Regions from separate parts of the Homo sapiens genome. Here region 1 is linked to region 2. Evidence: promoter capture Hi-C in 16 types of primary human blood cells and fetal thymus (Javierre and others, 2016). All regions are on one chromosome and are shown on one strand. The core of a region is centred on a gene start or on the middle of the fragment in contact, and the rest is flanking DNA. Distances in the headings are between cores, read along the strand shown.

The links. The method cuts DNA at HindIII sites, captures the fragments that hold promoters and counts their contacts. A CHiCAGO score of 5 or more calls a contact.
Region 1: a contact is called between a fragment that was not itself captured here and the fragment with the promoter of PRLR in region 2, in 1 of 17 cell types (M0 macrophages). The highest score is 5.3, in M0 macrophages.

Annotation. Positions count from the first base shown.
Region 1 is chr5:35,779,799-35,783,096 of GRCh38, reverse strand. All of the region lies in intron 30 of SPEF2 (sperm flagellar 2), which reads right to left. Among named protein-coding and RNA genes, the nearest start is that of IL7R, 75 kb to the left of the region's middle. The HindIII fragment of the contact is 2,361 bases long and covers 404-2,764 here.
Region 2 is chr5:35,228,680-35,231,981 of GRCh38, reverse strand. It overlaps PRLR (prolactin receptor), which reads left to right and starts at 1,495. Exons shown (of 10, transcript NM_000949.7): 1 at 1,495-1,714. The HindIII fragment of the contact is 6,146 bases long and covers 1-3,302 here.

The sequences.
Region 1 (3,298 bases), core at 335-2,834, 550 kb before region 2:
AGGATAGGTGATGGAAAGAATGGTTTGCTTTCTTTTACTCATACTGTTCTTATGCTTCTAAAGTATGGATCTTTGTTAAGTGGCAGGAAAAATGCAAGTGTAATCAACTGTTTCATTGCATTTTGCATGATCTAATTTGATTATCATGTATAAGGTCATTATTTTTTCTGGTATATTTGTGTTAATAATAATCAATAAATAATATTTTATGTCTAATCATTACCTTTACCAAAAGAGAGGTAGAATCATCATAAGTGGCAGAATTTGACCAGAAAAGGAGTGTTGAATATGTTACAATATATGATGCTTTTCAATTTTATGTTATCTTTAGTAAGGGCTATTTTAATGGAGACTTTTGTTTTCAAAGGGATTAACCAATACTTAGCAGAAAACCCCTTAAGCTTTAGTTCTTTCCATTTACATCTTGATACTATCTAGTTGCAAGTATTTAAAGCATTCAGTCATTGTTCTAATCAAAGATTAAATAATAATCCAATACTTGTATTTGTGTGGCATGATTAAAACATGCAAAGTGTAATTTAGTAACATCAGTGCTTTTTATAAATCTGCTAAAAAATCCTACCATGGGCCTAGTAACATAATGGCTGTTATATGCAAATAAATATGTATGCTTCCCTCCCAAAAAAATCCATCTGTTTTAATATATTTTAGTGAACTTGAAAGTTGCATCTTAGATATTATGGATTGCATGGGCATATATGAAATAATATAGGAAAATGTTTTTATTTCTTGGCATAGAAATAATAGCAAGTTTGAGCAGGAAGTTCTGCAGGATCACACATTTGAAACACACATGTTCAGCCAGCTCCTCCACACTTTCAAACCTGCTATCACTCACTAAGATTGTGTTTTGAAATTATAGAGTTCTAGGGTAAATACAGTGGAAGGTATCATAAAGGATTGTTTTCCATTTCTTGGAAGAAATACAACAAAAGCCTTCATTTAAAAGACGGATGGGTGTGTGTCATGTTTCTTAAGTGAACAATTGCCAAACCGGGGTAGAAAAACAAAAAAGCCAGAGTATACTTTGTGGGGCCAGAAGAGATGGGGAAAAGGGGTGAGTGGCAGTTAATGGGTTTCCTCAGGCAGGGCCATTGTCAATGTTTGGAGCCTGATTTCAAGAGTATCAGTAGAGAACCTCCAATTCTGTGACTCTGGGATGCAGAAAAATGGAGTAATACTTTTCCCTGCCCTCTATAAGAATAGCAAGAATAATAACAATGAACGTTACTCCTGTCAATCAAATTCCCAACACTTATTAATTATTTTAGATATACCTAAAAAGCAATATATGCAATATATATTTTTTCAAATGGTATAATTGAGCTAATAGAGAAAAGAGTTTAAACTGTTTGCCCATAGACCATACATAACTCACTTTGAATCATCACAATCCCCAAATCCTACCGTATTGTATAGCCTTGTAAATTCTGTGGTAATTACAACTGTTATTCTTGCATATGGGTTAATTCTCCAGCTTGGGTGGGAGGAGGTGGTTCCTCACACAGAGAAAGCCTCCTCTTCTACTCGCCTGGAGTTCATGCAGTTGGAGAAAGAAAAGCAGAGCAGTCTCCTAAACATTTCCCAAACATCATGCTCCTATCCTCACGCTTCTTGTCTACAGAGTTTCCAGCAGCTGTTCCCCTAACTGTAAACATTCTCTGTAGCCTTGCCACAAAATCTCTTTACCCTCTTCAATTTCTCCCTCCAAAGTTTTGCTCCACAGACTTTTCCCTGACCAATTTCAGGGCACACTGATGCTTTGCATTCTTGAGCACTTGAATAACATTCATACTGTGTCCCAGAAAGAACTCAAATAGTTGTTCATATTTCCTTCCTCTTTGCTTGCCTTTTCAAATTAAACTCTCAGCTCCTAGGGCAAATGGTTTCCTTTTACTCTGCTTTTAAAAAAATAAAAATTAAAAAAAAAACAACTCCGTTTCTCCCTCCCTCCCTTCCTTTACTTCCTCTCCCTCCCTTCTTATTTCTCCCATAGTCTGAAAACATTTATCTGTTGACATCTTTGTGTCCCAAGGGTTTCTAGAGTTAATCTTCTGAGACACATGTCAAGTTATAGCTGCTATTTTTTAAAATTTATTTTTAAATTTTTAGTGGAAATATGAGCTCTGGATTTGAGGTTGGATCCAAGAAAGTATTATGATTAGCATCATGGATACTAGGGTCCCTGCTGAAAGATATATTGTAAGTGGATGATAATTTTCAAAATCCACTTCTACCTATTCAAGTGTCCCCAGATGCCTTTAGTTTTTACCTATTAATTGAGTGATTTCCTCCCAGTCACCAGAGTGTAGGATTAAAGCAAACCACATGTCATGTTTAGAATCCACTTACACTTATCTTTTTATTTTATGTGTAAAATAATGGCCTGGATAAAATGAAGAGAAAAAGCAACTCTGAAGAGGGAAGTACATAATAACAGGGCATTGTGGAGCTCGCACCATGTAGAAGAGGGTGCACTCTGTCTGACTAAAGGACTGAAGGAATTTCATGGACTGATTTGTAAAGTCGAGATTTTTTGTACCTGCTGATGGCCATGTTTCCTTCGTGCCCAAATGCTGCCAAATGGCACCTCCGTCCCTCCACAGCTGAAGTGTGGGCTTTTATACCTTGGAGCTGTAAAGCCTGCTCTAGCTGATTTGATGAGCTGACACATCAAAGCGCAAGGTTCACCCAGGCACACACACATACACCAATTTCACCTATTGGGCTTGGCAAGGAAGCTTTCGGACTTAGAGTAATGCTCTTTTTACTAATGATATATGATGTGAATTTCTGGAAATACTGGACTTTTTTAAAAAGTAACATTGTATTAATACTAAAGTCAGTTGACTATGCTACAGGGAAAAGTAATAATTTCCCAATAAGTAGTATATGTTGAAAAGTAAAAGAAATCTGCTTATGAGAGGCAACTTAGTTCAGTGAGAAGGGGCAAGAACTTTGGATCTGCAGAGTTCTGAATGATATATGACCATAGGCAAAAAATCTGCTAAACTCCTCTGTGAGTCAGTATCTAGACCTTTAAAGTGGAGATGATAATCCTATGTGATCTGTCTGAATTACTTGTGCTATCAATCGACAGAACTCATTGAAGAATATCTGGAAGTAGGAAAAGGCTGAATAAAAAAAGCCTGTGCAGATGCTGTAGGTCCATGCTGATAAAATGTGAAAGAGATAAAATTGTTGTGTGCAGAAAACATTTACACATACATATGAACAAACCGACTAATTAATTAAGCAAACATTTTCTAACAGCTTA
Region 2 (3,302 bases), core at 246-2,745:
CAGGAAGCATGTGCGGTCTGCACGTGAAAGATGCATCTCCCATCAGCTAACAGAACCAGGTGGAGTCTATGTTTTAATAAGGACGTGTTATTGATCAGGAAGTATTAGGTTATTATGCCTAGGTAGTTGCTTCTGGGATTCCAGTCCAAAAGGATCACCAAAGCATCATGGGATTTTCAATGGCTTCCTGTGGCTTGGCAAATGCTCACTGCTAACTGTGATTTCCCAGTTATCCAGAGTAGCAGTCAAATCAAAGGGGAAAGCCTCATGTTTCAATAACTTAAAACAAAACAAAAAAAAAAACGGCCAGGCGCAGTGGCTCACGCCTGTAATCCCAGCACTTCAGGAGGCCAAGGTGGGTGGATCATGAGGTCAGGAAATCAAGACCATCCTGGCTAACAGGGTGAAACCTCATCTCTACTAAAAATACAAAAAACTAGCCGGACATGGTGGCACGCGCCTGTAGTCCCACCTACTCGGGAGGCTGAAGCAGGACAATTGCTTGAATCCAGGAGGCAGAGGTTCCAGTGAGCCGAGATGGGGTCACTGCAATCCAGCCTGAGCGACAGAGCGAGACTCTGTCTCAAAAAAACAAACAAAAACAAACAAAAAAAAAAACTCAGTAACCTTGGTTTAAAGTATTTCCTTGGTGGCCCTCTGGGTTGTGTAACAATCGGATGCATTAATTATTATGGCATCAAATGACACCAGCAACATACATAGTCAGAAATAACTATTTGATTCAGGCAGGTGCTATTATTTGTTTCAGCACTGTTAAATGTGGGGTTTTTGTTTTTGCAAGAGAAAAGGCGGTTGTGTGTGGTTTCAAGAAGAAGAAAAGTCAGAACAACATGCAGCCCATTAGAAAAGATAAATTCTTTATTTGTGGAAAACAACAGAAGTGGGGCTATTTAGGCACCGCCAATGTTTATTATATTCATATGGCAGAGAATAAACACAGCACACTAGAAGTTTGCGCTTTGGGTATTAAAAAAAAAAAAAAGCAAAACCTTCTTAGGTCACTGACTATCTTCTTTTGCTCCTTTCTATCTGACTCCTCAGGCAAGGTGCAATTCAAATCCCTGGAGAACCTCTCAAATATAGCTGCTGTTCAATGTTACTCAGAAATAAGGAAAGAAATTTGACACGGAGACACTCCACATCTTGGCTGCCTGGAAAAATATCATCTTTGAGGTCATTCAACTCACTAAGTCATTTTTATTATTGTTTTGTCTGTCTATTTTCTGGTACAGTCTCAATGAAAGATATGTGGCCCTAATCATGCAAAACCGATCTGGGGGGAATCAGTTGTTTCTTCAGGTCTTCGCAGGATTCCAGCTCCCCCAACTACCTCCGTCGCCTTCTAAAACTGGCAGGCTCTGGACGTTTTGCATGCTGAAGAAAATCACTGTTTTGCCTCCAGCAAGGAACATAAATGTTGCAACACTGACTCCTCCTCTCATGAAGAAAGAGTGAACAAGTGCACCGAGTTGAGCTTCTTCTCACAGAGCCACCGGGCTGGGGACCGGGGAGCGGAGGCTGAAATCCCCAGACGCCGGTTTTCTGGGCTGGGCTTTCTGCCTTACTCACTCCTTCTCCCTCTTTCTGGATTTTACCGACCGTTCGCGAAACAGCTTTCCACACAATGGAGCTTCATGTCCTCGTGCAGGAAGTACTCATCGACTGATGTGGCAGACTTTGCTCCCTGGCAAAAGTGAGTACCCATGGCGAGCTGAGGCCGCCTCCGACGGCGCGCGGCAGGGGCTGCGCGGGCGGCCGCTCTCCGGGATGCGGGTTCGAGGCCCGCGTGCTGAAGGGGAGAGCGGGGCCACCGGCGCGGGCTCCTGGAGAGAACGCCAGCCAGGAGCCAGAGTCGGCAGCCGGCGGGGAAGCCCGGGATCCGCCCGCCTCCCGCCCGGATGTCCCTTCTCAGAGGGGCTAAAAAATACTCTTAAGGTGCTTTGCCTCCACCACTGCCCCCAACCCCAGCTTTTACAAACTGCACTCGGCTCGCATTCGCCTTTGTCAAAGGCATCTTCACCTGTATCCTTGAGCATGAGTTTCGGCGTTGATTGTGGGATTCTCAGAATGCAAATTATTTGCGTCAAAATAAAAAGAAAAGAAAAAAAGAGCGGGGAGGGGGAAGGGGCGCAGACAGGTGATGTGATGAAAGCCGGACTCGAGACTCTCCCATCAGCAGCAGCCGCCGCCGCAGCAGCCTCGCGGGCATCCGGCGGGGAAAGTTTAGGGTTAGCAATGCTGACCTGAAAGGTGTTGCTCCTCCCAAAAGTCAGCGGGGGTAGGGGCAGATGAGCAGCCTCCGGGCCAGAAGCCGGAGCTGGACGGAGGCACCTAGGCAGAGGAATTGCAGCCCGGGAGGAAGCTGGAAGGAGAGCCCGCTGGAGAAGGGAGGAGGGAAGGGAAGAGGAGTTGGTTAAAGTCAGGCAAACTCAGGTAACTGGAGGGCCGGCCCGAGTGCTACGGCAGGGGAAGGCAAGGGCTGGAGTTCTGGCTCTTTGAGTAGAAAACTATCCTTTTAGTGACCTCTACCTGTATCCTGGGGAAGCAACCCACACTGCCCTGAAAACAAGCAACGTAGGGGATTCTATGACTGGACTTGAAAATGGTTGCAAAACATTATTATTAGTCTGGAGGGATCACTTTGTCTTCATTTGTCAAGTTGACCGGGCAAGATTTCCCACCTGAAATCGTGCTTCACTTGACCAGGGAAGTGCTGCTAATCCCAATCCTGACCATCAGCTGTGCAAACTTGGGCAAGATACTTACCCTCTCTGGGCTTCGATTTTTTTTCTGCAAAGTTTAGGGAATTAATTAATTATATATATATATTATAGAAATATATATAATATATATATAAATGTTTAATGAGGTGGAAGTGCTGAATAGTGCAAGAGAGGAGCAGATGAAAATATTAATTTCAGTGGTTCTTAAAAATTAGGGGTGATAGGTCCTTTTGAGAATTAGCTGTGAGTCCTCTTCCTGGGGCAAAATGCATATGGCATGTACATAAAATTTTACATGCAATCCCTGAGGGTTTGTGGATACTCCCTGAAAGCCATGCCTGAATCCCAGGTGACAATCCCTTATTCCTCCTCCTGTATCAAGACCACCCAGCCAACTCCTTGCTGCTGGTTGGGCTGACTGTGGGAGTAATCCACAGCCTTCTTGGGGGTCTGGAGTCAGCCACGCTGCTGAAGGAGACAGCTCCCCTGTCATGGGTGAGCTCCCCACATGCTCTCTCCAGAGCTCTACCAGCCTCTGACTCCAGGGGACCCCTCCTC